Linked DNA regions of Homo sapiens: all the other regions are linked to region 7. Evidence: promoter capture Hi-C in 16 types of primary human blood cells and fetal thymus (Javierre and others, 2016). All regions are on one chromosome and are shown on one strand. Each heading gives the region's core, a stretch centred on a gene start or on the middle of the fragment in contact. The rest is flanking DNA. Distances are from core to core; before and after follow the strand shown. Region 1 overlaps PCGF6 (polycomb group ring finger 6). Region 2 overlaps NT5C2 (5'-nucleotidase, cytosolic II). Region 3 overlaps NT5C2 (5'-nucleotidase, cytosolic II). Region 4 overlaps NT5C2 (5'-nucleotidase, cytosolic II). Region 5 has its middle 22 kb from the start of RPEL1. Region 6 overlaps INA (internexin neuronal intermediate filament protein alpha). Region 7 holds the start of CYP17A1 (cytochrome P450 family 17 subfamily A member 1).

Region 1 (2,700 bases), core at 113-2,612, 480 kb after region 7:
CGAACTCCCGAACTCAGGCAATCCGCCCACTTCAGCCTCCCAAAGTGCTGGGATTACAGGCATGAGCCACCGCACCCAGCTGGGGTTGGTCAGTTTCTAAGAGTTTGATGTGTATGGTCCTAGAACACTATGTGTGCATGTGGGTTTTTCTGTTATTCATTTTTTGCTTTAAAAAAAATGGGATCAACTGGGTGCGGTGGCTCACGCCTGTAATCCCAGCACTTTGGGAGGCCGAGACGGGCAGATCACCTGAGGTCAGGAGTTCGAGACCAGCTTGGCCAACATGGCAAAACCCTGTCTCTACAAAAAATACAAAAATAAGCTGGGTGTGGTGGCAGACACCTGTAATCCCAGCTACTCAGGAGGCTGAGGCAGGAGGATCACTCAAACCTGGGAGTCAGAAGTTGTAGTGAACCGAGATCGCGCCACTGCACTCTAGCCTGGGTAACAGAGGGAGACTCCATCTCAAAAAAAAAAAAAGAAAAAAGTGCGGGTGCGGTGGCGCACACCTGTAATCCTAGCACTTTGGGAGGCTGAGGCAGGCGGATCACAAGGTCAGCAGTTCAAGACCAGCCTGGCCAAGATGGTAAAACCCTGTCTCTACCAAAAATACAAAAAAATTAGCCGGGCATGGTGGCGGTCGCCTGTAATCCCAGCTACTCAGGAGGCTGAGGCAGAGAATGGCTTGAACCTGGGAGGCAGAGGCTGCAGTGAGCTGAGATGGCACCACTGCACTCCAGCCTGGGCGACAGAGCGAGACTCTGTCTGAAAAAAAAAAAGAAAAAAGAAAAAAAAAGTTGGTTTTGTTGGCACTCGCTGTCTAACAACTACCAAATTGCAGTTAGAAAACTTTTCACATTAGTGTAGGAAACTTTTTGCAGGCCTAGTTCCTCGATAGCCAAAGGCCAGCTTTGTAAGCAGGCCCTTCTAACGACAGCAGCCTCAAGGCTGATACGTTAACTCTTTTGTGCATAATATCTTACCCTCTGGAGTATCAAGAAGAGATAACAAAAATATTTTTGAATCTCAGAGCAGAAATCAGACCATGAAAGTAGTCTTATTAAAAGGAGAAAAAGTCCTCATCTTTTTAAAAGCAAGATCATGCTAGAGCTTCCAAGTTAAGATTTTTCAATCAGTGTGCTTTGATAAGCCACACTGGCTCATTCCTTTGATCATACATACTCTTCTTTTCGAGATGGAGTCTCACTCTGCCGCCCAGGCTGGAATGCAGTGGTGGGATCTCGGCTCACTGCCACCTCCGCCTCCTGGGTTCAAGCGATTCTCCTGCCTCAGCCTCCTGAGTAGCTGAGACTACAGGCGTACCACCATGCCCAGCTAATTTTTTTTTTGTATTTTTAGTAGAGACGGGGTTTCACCATGTTGGCCAGGATGGTCTCGATCTCTTGACCTTGTGATGTGCCCGCCTCGGCCTCCCAAAGTGCTGGGATTACAAGCGTGAGCCACCGGACCTGGCCATACATACTCTTCTTTGCTACTAAGTTCTTTTTTTCTGTGTCTGGCAAATTCCTATTTGTTCTTCAAACCCATTCCTGAGTTAAATCATTCACTTTTGTGTTATCTCCACTGTTGCATTCATTACATCCTATTGTTAGTTAGTTGTTTACTTATATATCTTTCCTACAAAATTCTGAGTCCCCTGATGGCATGAATTTTGTCTCATCTTTGTACTCCTAAGGTCAAATACATAGACCCTCAATTTAGTAACAATATATAATAAATGGTATGGAAACATCATATATTAGTCCTTAAAAAATTATTTGGAAACTAAATTTAATAGAAGGCTTAATATCATACACCAAATAAGTAATAATAATAACCTAACTTTTTTGAGATGGAGTCTTGCTCTGTCGCCAGGCTGTAGTGCAGTGGTGCGATCTCGGCTCACCGCAACCTCCACCTCCTGGATTCATGTGATTCTCCTGCCTCATCTTCCCGAGTAGCTGGGACTATACAGGTGCATACCACCATGCCCAGCTAATTTTTGTATTTTTAGTAGAGATGGGGTTTCACCATGTGGGCCAGGATGGTCTCCATCTCTTGACCTCGTGATCCGCCCGCCTCAGCCTCCCAAAATGCTGAGATTACAGGTATGAGCCACCATGCCTGGCCAGCCTAACTTTTAAGATGGAATTAGTTATGGCAGGATTAACAAAATCAAATATCACATCTTATAGAAGAATTTTTAGTGATCAATGTGAGGTGTATGTTCTAAATTTCATCTCATAAAAGCAAAATAAGGTCTGAATATCAAACAAAGCAAAATACAATAAGACATCAAAGAGTAAATACCACTAAATCAACCACAGTAACCCTGAGACACTGGAGTCTCTATGAGAAAGAAACATATTTGGATAATTATTGATCTCTAAATTTTAAATGAACTTAAATCTTTCTTAAGAACACATGATGGCCGGGCGCGGTGGCTCACACTTGTAATCCCAGCACTTTGGGAGGCCGAGGTGGGCAGATTGCCTGAGGCTGGGAGTTCAAGACCAGCCTGGCCAACATGGAGAAACTCTGTCTACTAAAAAAACTAGAAAATTAGCCAGGCATGGTGGCGCATGCCTGTAATCCCAGCTACTCAGGAGGCTGAGGCAGGATAATCGCTTGAACCCAGGAGGCGGAGGTTGCGGTGAGCCGACATCATCGCACCATTGCACTCCATCCTGGGCAAAAACA
Region 2 (2,714 bases), core at 101-2,600, 320 kb after region 7:
CATTTATTTCTAAAGATAGCATAGAGAATAAAACTTAATTGATGTCATTTATATACTCCATGTACTTCAAATGCACTTATTATCCATTCGGACAGTACAGACATTGCTCCAGAGGCTCCTAGAGATAAACCTAAAAAAAAAATCTGCCGTTACAGTGTCCTAGAGGGGTAATATAGGTCCCTCCAACTTTCTCTAACTAACCAAGTCTAACATATACTTTACCATAGGGTAAAAATTAGCACTAACTACTTCCAAGAACTTTAACCGCGTCTAGAAATACAATTCATCTTAAATCTACAAACTATAATAGCTTTATAAACAACCCTGTGTACAAGATTGACAAACATACTAGCACCTGTGATAGTCCTTATCATAAAAATGGTTTAACACCTACCTATCTATAGCCAGTGGTAGAAGGAAAGAAAATATACCAACCTAAAAAGGCAGTCCTTTAAGAAAATATACCAATCTAAAACAGCAGTCCTTTCATAATTTTCACATTTAAAAGAAACCTCAAATTTCTAGTGATGTCATAAAAGGTCTAAAAATAATACAGAATTACTTATACCCCTGGTTGTTCTCGTTATTCAATAATGAAATCTAAAAATAGCAGTAAAGTGGGCCAATTTTATTTTGTTCATAATCAATACATGATTAGATTAAAATAAGTTGTAAATGTGAGGCTCTGGAACCACTTCAAATTTTCTTACAGAACAAAAGAACTAGAAAGATAATTAATAGATTCCAGAAAAATAAAAACTAAACTTTTACTGTATTTTTAAAGAATTTTTTTGAGAGATTTATGTCCTATTTTATTAAAAGAAACATCTCTCTAAAATTAACCAGGTCTAGTTATGCCTGAAGGCTAGAAATGAAATAACCAACAGTATGCAGTTATTAACTTATCACTTATTATAGTGGTCACAAAAAGAGAATCAGTAATAATTCAGACTCTGAAGCATAAGAGAAAATAATACAAAAATAATATGGAACTATCTTATATTGCAAAGCAAATTAGAATAGGGAATTCTACTCTAAATTATTTTTTGCCTACATGCCCCAGAAACAAAATCATAGGCTGTTTTTCACTAAATATTTCACACCATTTTCTAAAGGTACAACTTATTTTAAAACGCCATTGAATTTTTAAGCTTCCCTCAATTCTTCGGTAAACCACCGTTTGCTTCCAATCTTGATAAATACATTCTGCAGAAAAACAAAATGAATTTACCACAGAGTAAACAAAGTACTTATATCTTACAAAATTCCTATTAAGATTGCCCTTACTCAGTGCTGTCTTTCAAAACAACAATAGCAACTTTATAGTAGATTACACATGAAACACTATAAGATTTGGGCTGAATTTCTTTCAATCTCTGCCTCTACCTCCACTCTCGGACTGGTAGCACTGCTTATTAATCTTTTAATTCATGCAGATGATACCTCTTCACTGAGAAAAATGAAAGAGAAAGAATAATAAAATCACTTACCCTTCCTTAGACATTCTCAAAGATCTACTTCCTCTGGATGAGAATACAGGATCAACAAACAAGCTTCACTGATCTCTTGAGAACTGTAGCTCATTTGTTAAAGCACAGAGAACTCAGGCCCTGAGAGGCCCAACAAATTTGGGCACAATGCCGAACCCTAACTAGGCAATATCTCAGTGACCAATATCCTCAGCTTTAAATACTTGAAAACTTAAGAATAATTTTTTTAAAAATTTCAAGACTAGGAAAAATAACTAATGGCCTGAACTGTTTAAGGCTGGCCAGTTAAGGAAGGAGACAATCCAAATGGCAAGTTCCTGTAAGAGACAGGAATCGTTACTGGCAAACACAGAAAAAGCAAATTTACCCCCTAATGAGGCCCTCCAACAGTACGCAAACAATGTGAGTTTCACAGAATCAAGCAGCCCTGGTCGGTCAAAATCATTTTTAGTTTACTCTGGGAGCAAAAAACACAGGATAAATAATTTTATGTTTTAATTATTAGTGTAGTTATTTCCTCCCTCAGAAAATAAACAATGTGAATTACAAGAGAAGGAAGTATGTGCAGATCATATTACAGGAGGAACCTAAAGTATTTCCACAGCGAGGTATTTTTTTTTCTGACTTCATTAACTGCTTTTAAACAAAACATCTGCGTTCACAAATATTTCACTTAATCGCCTGAAAATTTCAGCTCATGTGAAAAGATATTTACAGATCTTTGGCATATGGGGGATAAATCCAGAACATTCTAAAGGTTAATTCCAAATCTCAGAGCAAACTGAGCTTTGAAAAAAAAGAATCTGTAACATTCCTGCCTCCCGACCAATATAATGCATAGGGATTATGCAACAGGGGAAGAAATAAATAAGTCTGCTAAAGTCTAAGAACATTGAGATGGCAAATCCTCCTCACGGTGATTCAAATTAAAAATAAAATACATATACCTTAAAGAACTACTACTTGAATTAAGGCTTAAAATTTTTAAAAGCTTTATCCCTTTAAATATTACCTAAATATCTTACCATAAAGGTTTCTTTTTGTTATTAAAATGTTTAAATAGTTACTAAGTAATTAAAAGCACTACTAAATACTATAAATTCAAAATAAAATTAAGGGATAAAAGACTTTAAGGTAGAAAAAATAAAAAAGAAAAAACAAAAGAAAATTATTTTCAGTTTATTTAGAAAAGCAGTATGGTGTAATGGAAAGAGAATGGGCACT
Region 3 (2,700 bases), core at 193-2,692, 280 kb after region 7:
ACTATAAATAATGAACCTAACAGCTATGTAAATCTATTCACCATAGGCCTTGTCAAGTTCAGTTTAGTCTAATCAGAACATTGATACAATTCAATGAATCTAGCATGAAATTATCATATTTCTTTTCCTTTTTTTTTTTTTTTGGATAGGTCTCATTCTGTAGCCCAGGCTGAAGTGCAGTGGCACAATCTCAGCTCACTGCAACCTCCGCCTCCCAGGATCAAGCAATTCTCCCACCTCAGCCTCCAGAGTAGCTGGGATTACAGACGTGCACCACGCTCAACTAATTTTTGCATTTTTTGTAGAGATGCGGTTTTGTTATGTTGCTCAGGCTGGTCCTGGACTCCTAGGTGCAAGCAATCCATCTGCCTCGGCCTCCCAAAGTGCTGGCATTAATTACAGGAATAAGCCACCATGCCTGGACAAAATCATCACATTTCATCTTCACAAATCTCCTTTAGGGGTTGAGTCCTTATGATATATTCTGATTAGATTTTTACTTTGTTTAGTTTTATGAATGTTTTCTAATTTATTTTTATTAATTTTATTAACCACAATTATCTTTTTTGTTTGTTTGTTTTTTAAGGGATCATCTCTTTTTGGAGAGGGAATTTTTTTTTTCTTTTTATCTGTTACCCTAGTTTAAATACTCAGCTTATTCTCTTATTCTACCCTATTTGTGGGGGAGGGCAAGAGTCCAAAAACTCTTAAGAAAAAAGATCACTAAGGGAGATCATGAATGCATTTTTAAGATGTAGTAAGTCAAACTACATCTATTTTTCTGTTCTTTAATTTTCAGTTGTATGCTTTTGATCCATTCACAAACTGATAAATCTCTCAAGAATAAGTCAGAGGGCCGGGCACAGTGGCTCACACCTGTAATCCCAGTACTTTGGGAAGCCAAGATGGGTGGATCACCTGAGATGGGGAGTTCAAGACCAGCCTGACCAACATGGAGAAACCCCATCTCTACTAAAAATACAAAATTAGCCAGGCATGGTGGCACATGCCTGAAATCCCAGCTACTCAGGAGGCTGAGGCAGGAGAATCATTTGAATCCAGGAGGCAGAGGTTGCGGTGAGCTGAGATCGCGCCATTGTACTCCAGCCTGGGCAACAAGAGCAAAATTTTGTCTCCAAAAAAAAGTCAGAGGGTATATACAGGTTGGTAGCTTTCACTGACTTAGAAGTGCTCATTCCCTCACACAAATATCTCTTGCACATATAATCTGGAAGCCAGTGGGATGAGGTAATGCACAAGTTCTATATTTTCCAAGTTGTGAGGAGGATGCCCTGAGTATTATTTCATGACCTAGGACAATGAGAATTTCTTTGGTCTTTTTGATAAAGGTTACCTTTCTTGTTTTGTACCAAAGACTTTTCAACAAATACATTCCTTTCAGAGACCTCTCGTCACAGTAAGAACTCCAAATAGATGCAACCAGTTTACACGCTATCAATAGTAAGTTCAGCTCAGCTAATCTTCCATCTTAATTCATCAAAGAGTTTCATCGTTCTTTAAGAAGAAATGCTAAAGCACAGACTTTTACATTGTCATTGGTTTCATTAAACAAAAAAAAAGGCGTGGCCAGTTGCAGTCTCATGCCTGTAATCCCAGCACTCTGGAAGGCTGAGGCTGGTGGACTGCTTGAGTCCAGGAATTAGAGACCAGCCTGGGCAACATGGTGAAACCCCATTTCTACAAAAAATAAAAAAATTAGCCAGGCATGATGGCACGAGCCTATAGTCCCAGCTACTTGGGAGGCTGAAATGGGAGAATCACTTGAGCCTGGGAGGCAGAGGTTGCAGTGAGCTGAGATCACACCACTGCACTCCAGCCTGGATGACAGTGTGAGACCCTGTTTCAAAAAAAAAAAAGGAAGAAAAGAAAAGAAGTAAACTCAAAATGGATCAAAGACCTAAATGTAGGAGTTAAAACTATAAAACTCTTAGAAGAAAACATGGCAGAAAATCTTCCTTATATTGGATTTGGGAATGATTTCACAGCTATGACAGCAAAAAGCACTGGCAACAAAAGAAAAAAACAGATAAACTGGACTTCAAAATTAAAAACTTTTGTGCCTCAAAAGCCATGATCAAGAGAGGGAAAAGAAAACCCACAGAATGAGAGACAATATTTGCAAATTGTGTATCTGATGAGGGATTAATATCCAGAATATATAAAGATTAATATGCAGAATGTGTAACTCCACAGTTATTTTAAAAACCTAATTTTAAAAAACTGATATTTCTCCAAAGAAGTTATATAACTGACTAAATAAACACATGAAATGATGCTTAATATCACCAGCCATTAGAGAAACATGAAATCAAAACCATAAGATACCGTAACTTCACACCCAGTAGAATGAGTATTATCAAACAACAACAAAAAACCTGAAAATAAGTATTGCCAAGATGTGAAGAAACTGGAACTCTCATTCATGTATTGCTGGTGGGGATGTAAGATGTTACAGCCACTATAGAGAACAGTTTGGCAGTTCTTTAAAAAGCTAAACATAGATTTACGTTATGATCCAGCAATTCCATTCCTGGGTATATACCCAAAACAACTGAAAGCAGGAAGCAGGAACTCAAACAGATGCTTAAATACCAATGTTCACAGCAGCCTATTCATAATAGCCAAAAGGTGGAGACAATCCCCATGTCCATCAACAGATGAACAGATAAACAAATGTAT
Region 4 (2,700 bases), core at 75-2,574, 260 kb after region 7:
TGACTCAGCTTTCCACCAAATTTAGTGTCTTCAAGTGGATAAAGCCCAAAGAGGATAAGAAGTTAGCCAACTCTGGTATATAGATGGCTAAACTTTCAGTATTGGCTATATAATTCTCCCTAAAGGGAGAGGATAACTTGTTTAAGACTTACGCAAAATTTTACTTCTGATAAGATACACAGTATTTATTCCTTAATCAAATCTTGCCTGGCCTGGGAATGAAATTAAATTACCATCCCTGAATGGCTCCTGGGTAGCTGCTGTGAAATGAGTTGGGGGGTTTTAGTGTAATTCTGCTTGGACAGATAATCATCACACAAACCTCCCACTCAGTTGTCACAATTAGCACCTCTGCTGGCCGTCTTCATTCCCAGGAGAAGCCAATCAGAAGTGGTGGCTGCAGCACACTGGCAAGGAGAGGGGCCGTGTGGGAGGTGAGAGCCTGCATGGAGCTGCTGGTGCTGTCCCATCTCTCAGGTTGGCAATGTGGCATCTCTCACTAGCACTAAATTCACTTTAGAAAAGCAGAAAAGACCTACAATGGCCAGTTCTCTAAAACCCTGTGCATTAATTTTAAAAATCAATTGGAAAAAAATAATTATAGTATATACATACCTGGTATATCTGGGACAATTAGTAAAAAAATCTACTAGGCAGGCCAACAGGTAGGTCTCTGAAAAATGAAGAACAGATATTCATAAGCTATAATGAAATAATTCAAACTTATTTCATTACCTCCCTTGAATACAGACTAATGGTCACAGAAGGGAAAGCATCAGTATAAATAAGCATAGAATGAATCTACCTGGTAGGTTGAATAGTGTGTTCAGAATGTAAAATCTTTCAGTATCATCTCGCTGGATAAATTTATTTGGATACTGTTCTCTAGTTTCTGGTCTGAAAGAAAAATTTAAAAATTAACTGATTTTTAAAATAACATTATAATAATTGGGAAATAGCATTATTCAAAAATTAACTCAAATATTTTGATGGCTATGTGCAAGACAGAATTCCGAATATTACGCATGGATAGCTATGAAGATGAACGAGTTCAGGTTCCAGCTCTTTATTTTTTTTAATTTTAATTTTTTTTTTTTTTTAAGACAGTCTTGCTATTTTAAGTCCAGGCTGGACTCAAACTCCTGAAGATTGCTCAAGCAATCTTCCCACCTCAGCCTCCCAAGTAGCTGGGATTACAGGTGTGATGTCCAGCTTAGGTTCCAGCTCTTAAAAGAGTTGTCAGTGTGGTGGGCGAGGTGGGTCACATACACATATAATTATAAGGTAAAAAATCACAACTACTACAAGAAAGGTGCAAACATTTATGAGAAAACCAAAGAAGGGAACACCATTTCAACTTAAGAGGTAGAGAGAAGCAAATGTGAGGACTAAGGAGAGGAAAATCTAGGAAGGATTCATGCACGTGCTGGTATATGAGCTGGGCCTTAAAGGCTAGGTGGACCAGTTGTGAAACTAGTCCAACTTGGGTAGAGAAAGGGGAGCAGAGAAAAATTAAGCTAGAAAGATGGGTTGAGGCAGATTAAGCTACTGTTTCTACACCATTTAGGGGCAAGAGGGTACTACTGACAGTTTTAAAGCAGAGGATAATCCCATCGGGGCTGAGTTGTAAAACAAAATTAAATTAGTGGCTGTTTTAGGATAAACTGGGGAAAGACAATGTGATGCACTCCAACAATGGCCACAAATTCTTCCTGTCTCTTTGTGATGCAATTTTGTGGCTCCTCCCATTAGAACTCAGTCTATTTCTCTATCCTTGAATATAGGCTTGTATAGCAGCAAATGGGATCCAAGCAGAGACCTAGAAAAACATGTGTGTATTGAGGCTTAATCTCTCTTGCAGCACTTGGAACCATGGACTACTATGTGCATGACAGTGAGATAGTCTGCTGGAGGATAGAAGGCTACATGTAGAAATGAAGCACTCGGCCAACAGCCTGTGAATGCCAGACATGTGCATGAGGCCATTGTAGATCAGATGCCAGGTCACCCACCAGCTAACCACAGACATGTGAAAGAGCATAGAGAGATCAGCTGTGCAACCCAGAATCACCCAGTTGACTCTCAGAATTTTTTCTTTTTTCTTTTTTTTTTTTTGAGACAGAGTCTCACTCTGTCGGCCAGGCTGGAGTGCAGTGGCGTGATCTCAGCTCACTCATATATTCAAGAGAGATTACCAAGGTAAAATAAGACCCGGCAAACTGAGCAGATTTGGCTGGGGGAACATTAAAGAGTCAAAGATGATGATGTCCATGCTAAGGTGTCTCTGAGAGGTGGTTGGTACGATGAACAGAAATATGAAAACTAGATAAGAAGTGATGTGAGAGTAGTTCTATTTTAGTGATACTAAGTTTGAAGTAAACTGATTTTTATTAGGCAATTAGAAACAAAGGTCAAGAACTTAAAAGAGATTCAGCCTTGAGAGATAACTGAGATCATCTACGTACAGATACTAGATGGAATCATGAAAAGTATTAGAGGAGATGAAACCACTTAGTGTGCAGAGAAGGAAGAGAAGAGACAGAACAGAACCATGAAGAAAATTCAAGGTTTAAAAGAAAAAAGCCAGTGAAGCAGAATTTGTTAAAGATGCAAAAACACTTCTAGAAGAAAACATTTCAGAGAAACTCAAAGGGAAAAATACTAAAATATAAAAATGCACAGTTCTGACAGTGAATACAT
Region 5 (2,738 bases), core at 7-2,506, 390 kb after region 7:
CAGGTTAGTTACTCCCAAGATACAATGAGGGTACAGGCATTGGGTAAATATTCCCATTCCAAAAGGGAAAAATTGGCCAAAAGAAAGAGGCTACAGGCCCCATGCAAGTTTGAAACCCAGCAGGGCAGTCATTAAATCTTTTTTTTTTTTTTGAGATGGAGTCTTGCTCTGTCACCCAGGCTGGAGTGCATGGAGTGCAGTGGCACAATCTCATCTCACTTCAACCTCTGCCTCCTGGATTCAAGCAATTCTTCTGTCTCAGCCTCCCAAGTAGCTGGGACTACAGGCAAGTGCCGCCACTAGCAAGTGCCTGGCTAATTTTTGTATTTTTAGTAGAATATTTTTGTATTCACCATATTGGCCAGGCTGGTCTCGAACTCCTGACCTCATGATCCGCCCACCTTGGCCTCCCAAAGTGCTGGGATTACAGGCATGAGCCACTGTGCCCAGCTGAATCTTAAAACTCCAAAATAATTTCCTTTGACTCCATGTCTCACATCTAGTGCACACTGGTGCTATGGGTGGGCTCCCAAGGCCTTGGGCAACTCCACCCCTGAGGCTTTCCAGGGTACAGCCCCCATGGTGGCTTTCATAGGCTGGAATTGAGTGCCTACAGCTCTTCTAGGTGGAGGGTGCAAGCTGCCAGTGAATCTACCATTCTGGGGTCTGAAGGATGGTGGTCCTCTTCTCACAGCTCCATTAAGCAGTGCCCAATGGGGATTCTGTGTAGGGGCTCCACTGCCCTAGTAGAGGTTCTCCATAAGGCTCCACCTCTACAGCAGGCTTCTGCTTGGACATCAAGGCTTTTCCACAAATCCTCTGAAATCTAGGCAGAGGCTCCCAAACCTCAACTCTTGTACTCTGTGCACCAGTAGGCTTAGCATTACATGGAAGCTGCCAAGGCTTATGGCTTGCACCTTCTGGAGCAGTGGCTGGAGCTACAGCCACTTTTAGCCACAGCTGGAGCTGGAGTGGCTAGGATGCAGGGAGCAGTGTCCTGAGGCTGTACAGGGTGACAAAGCCCTGGGCCTGGCCCACAAAGCCATTCTTCCCTCCTAGGCCCCAAGGCCTGTGATGAGAGGGGCTGCCGCAAAGGTTTCTGAGATGCCTTTGAGGCCTTTTTCCCATTGTCTTGGCTATCAGCATTTGGCTCCTCTTTACTTAAGCAAATTTGTGTAGTGAGCTTGAATTTTGAGACAAAGTCCCACTCTGTCGCCTAGGTTGGAGTGCAGTGGCGCCATCTCGGCTCACTGAAACTTCTGCCTTCTGGGCTCAAGCGATCCTCCCACTTCAGCCTCCTGAGTAGCTTGGACGACAGGCATGGTTTTTCCTTTCTATGTGGGCCTGGCTGCAAATTTTCCAAACTTTTACCTTCTGCTTCCCTTTTAAATACAAGTTCCAGTTTTATGTCATTTCTTTGCTCATGCATATGAACATAGGTAGTCAGAAGCAGCCAGGTCACTTCTTGAATGCTTTGCTGCTGAGAAATTTCCCCACCAGATACCCTAAATCATCACTCTCAAGTTCAAAGTTCCACAGACCCCTAGGACAGGGGCACAATGCCTGCAACCTCTTTGCTAACACATAACAAAAGTGACCTTTGCTCCAGTTTCCAATAAGTTCCTCATTTCCATCTGAGACCTCCTCAGCCTGGACTTCATTGTCCAGCTCAATATCAGCATTTTGGTAACAACCATTTAACCAGTTTCTAGGAAGTTCCAACTTTTTTCTCATCTTCCTGTCTTCTTCTGAGCCTTCCAGGCTGTTCTAACTTCTGCCCCTTATCCAGTTCTCAAGCCGCTCCCACATTTTCAAGTATCTTTATAGCAATGCCACACTCCCAGTACCAATTTTCTGTATTAGTCTGTTCTCACCCTGCTATAAAGAAATACATGAGATTGGGTAATTTATAAAGAAAAGAAGTTTAATTGGCTCACGGTTCTGCAGCCTGTACAGGAGCATGAAGCCTTCTGGGAGGCCTCAGGAAACTTTAAATCATGGTGGAAGGCAAAAGGGAAGCAGGCATGTCTTACGTGGCTGGAGCAAGAGGAAGAGATCGGGGGAAGTGGTACACAATTTTTTTTTTCTTTTTTGAGACGGAGTCTCACCTTGTTGCCCAAGCTGGAGTGCAATGGCATGATCTCGGCTCACTGCAACCTCTGCTGCCTGGGTTCAAGCAATTCTCCTGCCTCACCCTCCCAAGTAGCTGGGATTACAGGCACCTGTCACCAAGCTCAGCTAATTTTTGTATTTTTAGTAGAGATGGGTTTTCACCATCTTGGCCAGGCTGGTCTTGAGCTCCTGACCTCGTGATCCACCTGCCTCGGCCTCCCAAAGTGCTGGGATTACAGGCGTGAGCCACTGCGCCCAGCCGGAAGTGGTACACACATTTTTTTGTTTTCGTTTTTGTTTTGAGACAGAGTCTTGCTCTGTCGCCCAGGCTGGAGTGCAGAGGTGTGATCTTGGCTCATGGCAAGCTCCACTTCCTGGCTTCACGCCATTCTCCTGCCTCAGCCTCCCAAGTAGCTGGGACCACAGGTGCCAGCCACCACGCCCAGCTAATTTTTTTGTATTTTTAGTAGAGATGGGGTTTCACCGTGTTAGCCAGGATGGTCTCAATCTCCTGACCTCGTGATCTGCCCGCCTCGGCCTCCCAAAGTGCTGGGATTACAGGCATGAACCACCGCACCTGGCCGTGGTACATACTTTTAAAAAACCAGATCTCGTGAGAACTCTAT
Region 6 (2,700 bases), core at 127-2,626, 440 kb after region 7:
GCTGGGCGTGGGGAGGGGTGCCCTGCCCTCTTCCGCGCGTACCCTCTTCCTCTGGTAAAACTGGGCCCCAGGACTTAAGGGGAGGGCAAAAGAGAGGAGAGAAGAGCCGCGGCTGGAGGCGCTGGTTAACAAAAAACCCTGGAGTCTTTAATGTTAATTTTAGGGAACGCCCCTCATTTATGTCCCTGCCCCAGCCCTTCAAACAAAGAAGCCCTTAAATTTATTTGAGGTTCGAAAACCCAACTCTGCCTGTCTGTCAGCAAGCGGGCCTACACACACCGGCGACCCGGAGAACAGTGCCCCACCCAAAGTAAGACTGAGCCCAACGGGGCAGGTTACGTGGGCGGTGCTGTCTCGGCTATCTGGCTTGTTTGGTTGACTTTGAAAAGCTTTCTGTGCGCCCTAGAAGTTATTTATGGAGTATGGTCTGCTTCAGGGCTGAAGGAAGAATGCGATCCTGAACTGGGAAGAGTCCTATCCCATTTTCTTGACTTTCGCGCTCCAAAAAGTAGAGATTGGGAGCCAACAAGCTGAGCGATGCTTGAGCTAGTAGTAACCACCCTGCTCTACCCACCTCCCCAACACACACACACACACGATTCCCTTGTCCACCAGCACACACACACACACACACACACACACACACGATTCCCTTGTCCACCAGCTGACATTTCCTCCTTAAGAAAGCGTTCGCCGGTTGGCAAAACGTGAAAGGTCGGGGCGCTGTCCACGGTGCTGATCTCGAGTTCTTCCCATCTCAGAAATTATGTCTCTCCTGTCTCGTGTCCCAGTTATGAATCTCTAGGCAATTAACTGCTTTGATTTTTTTTTTCCTGCAACACCAACACATCAGTCTTGGCTACCTGCAATCAAAGGTCACCTCATAGACAACATCAGTTTTGGCTTTCATGGATGGCTTAGCACTAAACAAAAAACACTTAATTTGCTCAGCAGCTGTGAGGTCCCACTTGAAAATTCCTGTTTTGTTAGTATTTTTTTCATTGTAAGTGCATGTGATAAGTCACAGAGATGGTTTTTCTTTGTTCTAGTGTATGTATTTTTTCCATATTTCCCTGTCCTCTAAGCTCCTGTGATGGTATTGATTGGCTATTTCTTCCCAACAAAGGCCACTGTGTCTTCAGTTTTACTATATAAGAAATTCTGGGATTATGACCGCAAATGGCACAGAGGCAGGGGACAGGGTAAATGGAAGGTGTAGAAAAGAATTGGAATAGTGTGGTTCGGTTTCAAGGTACAATAAAAGCTCCTTTGAATAGAATGACTATAATTCAGAAACTTGCAATAATTCTAGCTAGGATTAAAGTTTACATTTGGTGAGATTAATAGGGCTTGGAACATTGGTAAAATAGAACCAAGAAAGGAATGAAATCTCAAAAGTAACATTTTAATCAGAAGCTAAAGAATTCTTATTGATGTGCAGGTATTTGCTGTTTGTTACAATAACTTCCTTTGATAAAGGAAAAAAGCCTGCTTGGACTGTTTAGGTTAGTTTGGTATTGCATTATCATTCAAATAAGTACTTCCATTTCTGCCTCAAAATCCATAACTTGAACTTTTCATTATGTACCCTAACCCCTGGATGGCCTGAATTAATCACATTTGGCTAATTGAGACTTCATTTTTTTCTTCTAGAAGCCTCCAAGTACGAGCTAGGTGGTCTTCTGGAGGGCTAGCCCAGTATTTCTACAAAAAAAGGATAACTTACTCAGAGCTGCCAGCTGAATTGGGCTTCTCCATTTTCTCTGCTTGTTATAGCCCATACATTCTAAGAAGTAGTGACAGTTTTGCCTGGCTTGTTTGCTGTAAAAGGCTTTCATCATTAGACAATGGTAGCGTCATCCAGACATGGTCTACAGGAAACAAACAAAAAACAACAACAGAGAAACTGCAGCATCTGCAGCTCTGCGGTGCTGCCCCCATCAGCTTGAGCCTTTAGAGCCACAGAGGACCTGCTGATGGGAGTGGAAGAGGAGGTCAGACAACAGAGAGCTGGTTCCCTACTCCTTGGGACCTAAGGCTAAGGTGGAGCTCAAGTCTTACCTGCAGATCCTAACGGCCTGATGCCACAAGGGTGTCTCTGACTGTTCTAACAATCTTAGCAGTGCTGACCAAGGTGAAAAGCCTCCCTTTCTACAGTGAGATTTAGCCATTGTTTTCTTGCCCTCTCATCTCATCCCCACCTTTCACTGCAGTAATGGGAGGCTGTTCTCCTTCTTCTGCTACAGAGATTAGTGGTAGGGCCATTTTTCTTTTCAAACTTGGCACCCTCTATGAAACATAGGAAGGCCCCATTAAAGTCCCATCTTCTCTGCCCCAGATAGCTGATAGCCTATTTAAGGAGAGAAAGCTTCTTACACTTTTGAAAGGGTAAAAAATGATTCACGGTGACACAGTAAGTACACAATAGTGGATGAGAGAGTCTGAATCAGGCAAGAGAAGAGATTAGGAAGAGCTAAGGCTATTGTCTTCAAAAGCCAAATGCAACTCCCCTCTGCATAAAAAGCTGATGGGGTTTCCATTTCTGACATAGGGCAATGCTGGTGCCTACATAGCCACTTCGGCACCATTAGAGTCCTAGTTCTGTTAAAGATGTCCAAAGACATTCTTGGAGGGTACTCAGGGTCTCAGACCTCTACTGTGGTCAGTCTTGGAAAGTTGAAGCTTTCCTTGAAAGACCTT
Region 7 (2,700 bases), core at 118-2,617:
AGCCTTCTCCATCTTCTCTGCCCCCGGGAGGAAGCCAGCAGAGGTGGGAGCTAGGTAGTTGGTCAGCAGACCTGGCTGATTGGTCCAAGAAAAAATAAACCAACCCTTGGCTTGATCAAAGCTGAGAGGCTGGCAGGGCACAGTGGCTTACGCCTATAATCCTAGCACTTTGGGAGGCTAAGGTGGGAGGATCACGAGGTCAGGAGATCGAGACCATCCTGGCTAACATGGTGAAACACCATCTCTACTAAAAATACAAAAAATTAGCGGGCATGGTGGCATGCTCCTGTAGTCCCAGGTACTCAGGAGGCTGAGGCAGGAGAATCACTTGAACCCGGGAGGCAGAGGTTGCAGTGAGCTGAGATTGGCCACTGCACTCCAGGCTGGGCGACAGAGAGAGACTCTGTCTCAAAAAAAAAAAAAAAAAAAAAAAATGCTGAGAGGCTGGGGGCCCTGCTGAGTGGGAGGCTCATCAGCAACCCTGAAATGTCATTGTAGAAAACTGCCCCTGTGAGCCTGAGTAGCTGGAAATAGCACCAGGAAAGCAGCAATCCCAGCCTGCAATAGCTAGGCTAATTCTCCCCAGCAGCTTTCATGGAGGACAGTAGTCACTGCCCCCATTTTCCATGAAAAGTAACATGAATCCTGGCTGTATAAGGGGCACTTACTGTGCTGGGTGCTAGGCTAAGTGCTGTACATGCACCTTCTCAGTCCATTAGAGAAGTCTAGGCTCAGAGAGAGGAGTGGAGTGAGGATTCCTTGACCCCTCAGACCACTGTGGTCCTCCCATCCCACCTCCTGGGCAGCCTGGTAGAGGAGACATTCCTTTAATTCTTCCTGCCTAATTTAGAGGCTGGGTGGGGGTCTGAAGGTTCACTCCCTTCACATCATCCCACTAGTCTACTTTGGGAAGAATTACAGGTTGTTGGAGCTGGAAGCCCCATTCTAGGCATGGTCTGAAGACCTGAACAATCCCAGGGGGTGGTGAAGGGGGCAGGGAGGAGATGGGCACCACTTACCATTTGAGGCCGCCCAGAGAAGTCCTTGCCCTTCTTAATAAGCACCTCCTTGGCCAGCTGGTGGTGGCCGACAATCACTGTAGTCTTGGTGCCCATACGAACCGAATAGATGGGGCCATATTTTTTCTGCAGCTTGAAGAAGTTGTTATGCATATGGCCGTGTCTGGGGAGGAATGGCAGGCTGCCCACCAGGGGCAGGGACAGGAGGCTCTTGGGGTACTTGGCACCAGGGCACCTTCTCTTGGGCCAAAACAAATAAGCTAGGGTAAGCAGCAAGAGAGCCACGAGCTCCCACATGGTGGCTGGGTGCCGGCAGGCAAGATAGACAGCAGTGGAGTAGAAGAGCTGTGGCAACTCTAGGGCACAAGGAGGCCTTTTAAAGGGCTACCCTGATCTTCACCTTGACTTTGTGTTATCTCTTGCCTTGTGGAAAGATTCTCCTGGAGCCCAGCCAGGCCTGAGCTCATATCCAGAAGGGAGAGAGGCGGTGGGAGTGAAGGCCTCCTCAAGGGCTGGCTCAACTCCAGGGCAAACCTCCGGAGGAGGAGCTAGGTAAGGGAGGTCAGTTGATCACCCTCTGAGGAGCTCCCCATGCTTGAATGACTCCAGAGTGCGAATGGTATCTGGGCTCAGGAGTCAAGGCTTGGAACTTTCCATGTTGCAAAATCAAAATCACTGGACAGATGACAGATTCAGGAGGGTCACAAGTAGCAGGGACTGTTAAAGGTCTTTTATGCTTCTTTTTTTTTTTTTCAGAGTCTTGCTCCATCACCAGGCTGGTGTGCAGTGGTGTGACTGTCCATGCAGCCCTGGCCCTCCAGCCCATGTGGTTTTGGCAGCGATAAGGGCTGTGGGTTAATGGTCCCCAAAATAAAAATGTACATGTGTATGGGAACGAAAGGGGTGCTAAGCTGTGGGGAGCGGTGGAAGGGAAGGGAGAGATAGGTCAGTACTAGGAATGCCAGAGGTGGGAGGCCGTTTCATAACATTTCTTGTTGATCAAAATGCCATCAACACCTTCTTTGCTCATCAGCAGGACTAGCGTACTGGGGGAACCCACCCCCAATATTTCAACGTAGGTTCTTTCTATAAGTGTCAGCCGGCTGAGAAATAAAGAGAGACAGTATAAAGAGAGGAATTTTACAGCTGGGCCGCCGGGGGTGGCATCACATATCGGTAGGACTGTGATACCCACCTGAGCCTCAAACCAGCAAGTTTTTATTAAGGGTTTCAAAAAGGGGAGGGGGTGTAAGAACAGGGAGTAGGTACAAAGATCACATGCTTCAAAGGGCGAAAAGCAGAACTACTAATAAGTGTCTAACAAAGATCACATGCTTCTGAGGGAAAGGACAAAGGGCAAAAGCAGAACTACCGATAAGGGTCCAACAAAGATCACAAGGCAAAGGGCAAAAGCAGAACCACTGATAAGGGTCCAACAAAGATCACAAGGCAAAGGGCAAAAGCAGAACTACAGATGAGGGTCTATGTTCAGCGGTGCACATACTGTCTTGATAAACACCTTAAACAACAGCAAACAGGGTTCGACAGCAGAGAACCGGTCTGACCACAAATTTACCAGGGCGGAGTTTTTCCCCACCCTAGTAAGCCTGAGGGTACTGCAGGAGACCAGGGCGTATCTCAGTCCTTATCTCAACTGCACAAGATAGACATTCCCAGAGCG

What was found. The method cuts DNA at HindIII sites, captures the fragments that hold promoters and counts their contacts. A CHiCAGO score of 5 or more calls a contact.
Region 1: a contact is called between a fragment that was not itself captured here and the fragment with the promoter of CYP17A1 in region 7, in 6 of 17 cell types (M0 macrophages, M1 macrophages, endothelial precursors and 3 more). The highest score is 7.7, in M0 macrophages.
Region 2: a fragment that was not itself captured here is called in contact with the fragment with the promoter of CYP17A1 in region 7 in 1 of 17 cell types (erythroblasts); the score reaches 7.0 in erythroblasts.
Region 3: a fragment that was not itself captured here is called in contact with the fragment with the promoter of CYP17A1 in region 7 in 1 of 17 cell types (erythroblasts); the score reaches 8.1 in erythroblasts.
Region 4: a fragment that was not itself captured here is called in contact with the fragment with the promoter of CYP17A1 in region 7 in 2 of 17 cell types (erythroblasts and megakaryocytes); the score reaches 9.7 in erythroblasts.
Region 5: a fragment that was not itself captured here is called in contact with the fragment with the promoter of CYP17A1 in region 7 in 2 of 17 cell types (erythroblasts and naive CD4 T cells); the score reaches 6.2 in erythroblasts.
Region 6: a fragment that was not itself captured here is called in contact with the fragment with the promoter of CYP17A1 in region 7 in 3 of 17 cell types (erythroblasts, M1 macrophages and M0 macrophages); the score reaches 7.3 in erythroblasts.

Annotation. Positions count from the first base shown.
Region 1 is chr10:103,317,976-103,320,675 of GRCh38, forward strand. The region is part of intron 8 of PCGF6 (polycomb group ring finger 6); the gene reads right to left. Among named protein-coding and RNA genes, the nearest start is that of PCGF6, 32 kb to the right of the region's middle. The HindIII fragment of the contact is 3,787 bases long and covers 1-2,700 here.
Region 2 is chr10:103,151,801-103,154,514 of GRCh38, forward strand. The region is part of intron 3 of NT5C2 (5'-nucleotidase, cytosolic II); the gene reads right to left. Among named protein-coding and RNA genes, the nearest start is that of NT5C2, 40 kb to the right of the region's middle. The HindIII fragment of the contact is 402 bases long and covers 1,150-1,551 here.
Region 3 is chr10:103,118,234-103,120,933 of GRCh38, forward strand. The region is part of intron 4 of NT5C2 (5'-nucleotidase, cytosolic II); the gene reads right to left. Among named protein-coding and RNA genes, the nearest start is that of NT5C2, 74 kb to the right of the region's middle. The HindIII fragment of the contact is 5,128 bases long and covers 1-2,700 here.
Region 4 is chr10:103,100,430-103,103,129 of GRCh38, forward strand. NT5C2 (5'-nucleotidase, cytosolic II) reads right to left here. Exons shown (of 19, transcript NM_001351169.2): 7 at 806-897; 8 at 616-673. Among named protein-coding and RNA genes, the nearest start is that of NT5C2, 91 kb to the right of the region's middle. The HindIII fragment of the contact is 6,803 bases long and covers 1-2,700 here.
Region 5 is chr10:103,222,901-103,225,638 of GRCh38, forward strand. No RefSeq gene overlaps it. Among named protein-coding and RNA genes, the nearest start is that of RPEL1, 22 kb to the right of the region's middle. The HindIII fragment of the contact is 5,826 bases long and covers 1-2,738 here.
Region 6 is chr10:103,278,289-103,280,988 of GRCh38, forward strand. All of the region lies in intron 1 of INA (internexin neuronal intermediate filament protein alpha), which reads left to right. Among named protein-coding and RNA genes, the nearest start is that of INA, 2.5 kb to the left of the region's middle. The HindIII fragment of the contact is 1,979 bases long and covers 388-2,366 here.
Region 7 is chr10:102,836,046-102,838,745 of GRCh38, forward strand. It overlaps CYP17A1 (cytochrome P450 family 17 subfamily A member 1), which reads right to left and starts at 1,368. Exons shown (of 8, transcript NM_000102.4): 1 at 1,020-1,368. The coding sequence starts at 1,316. RefSeq lists a promoter at 1,328-1,607. The HindIII fragment of the contact is 11,808 bases long and covers 1-2,700 here.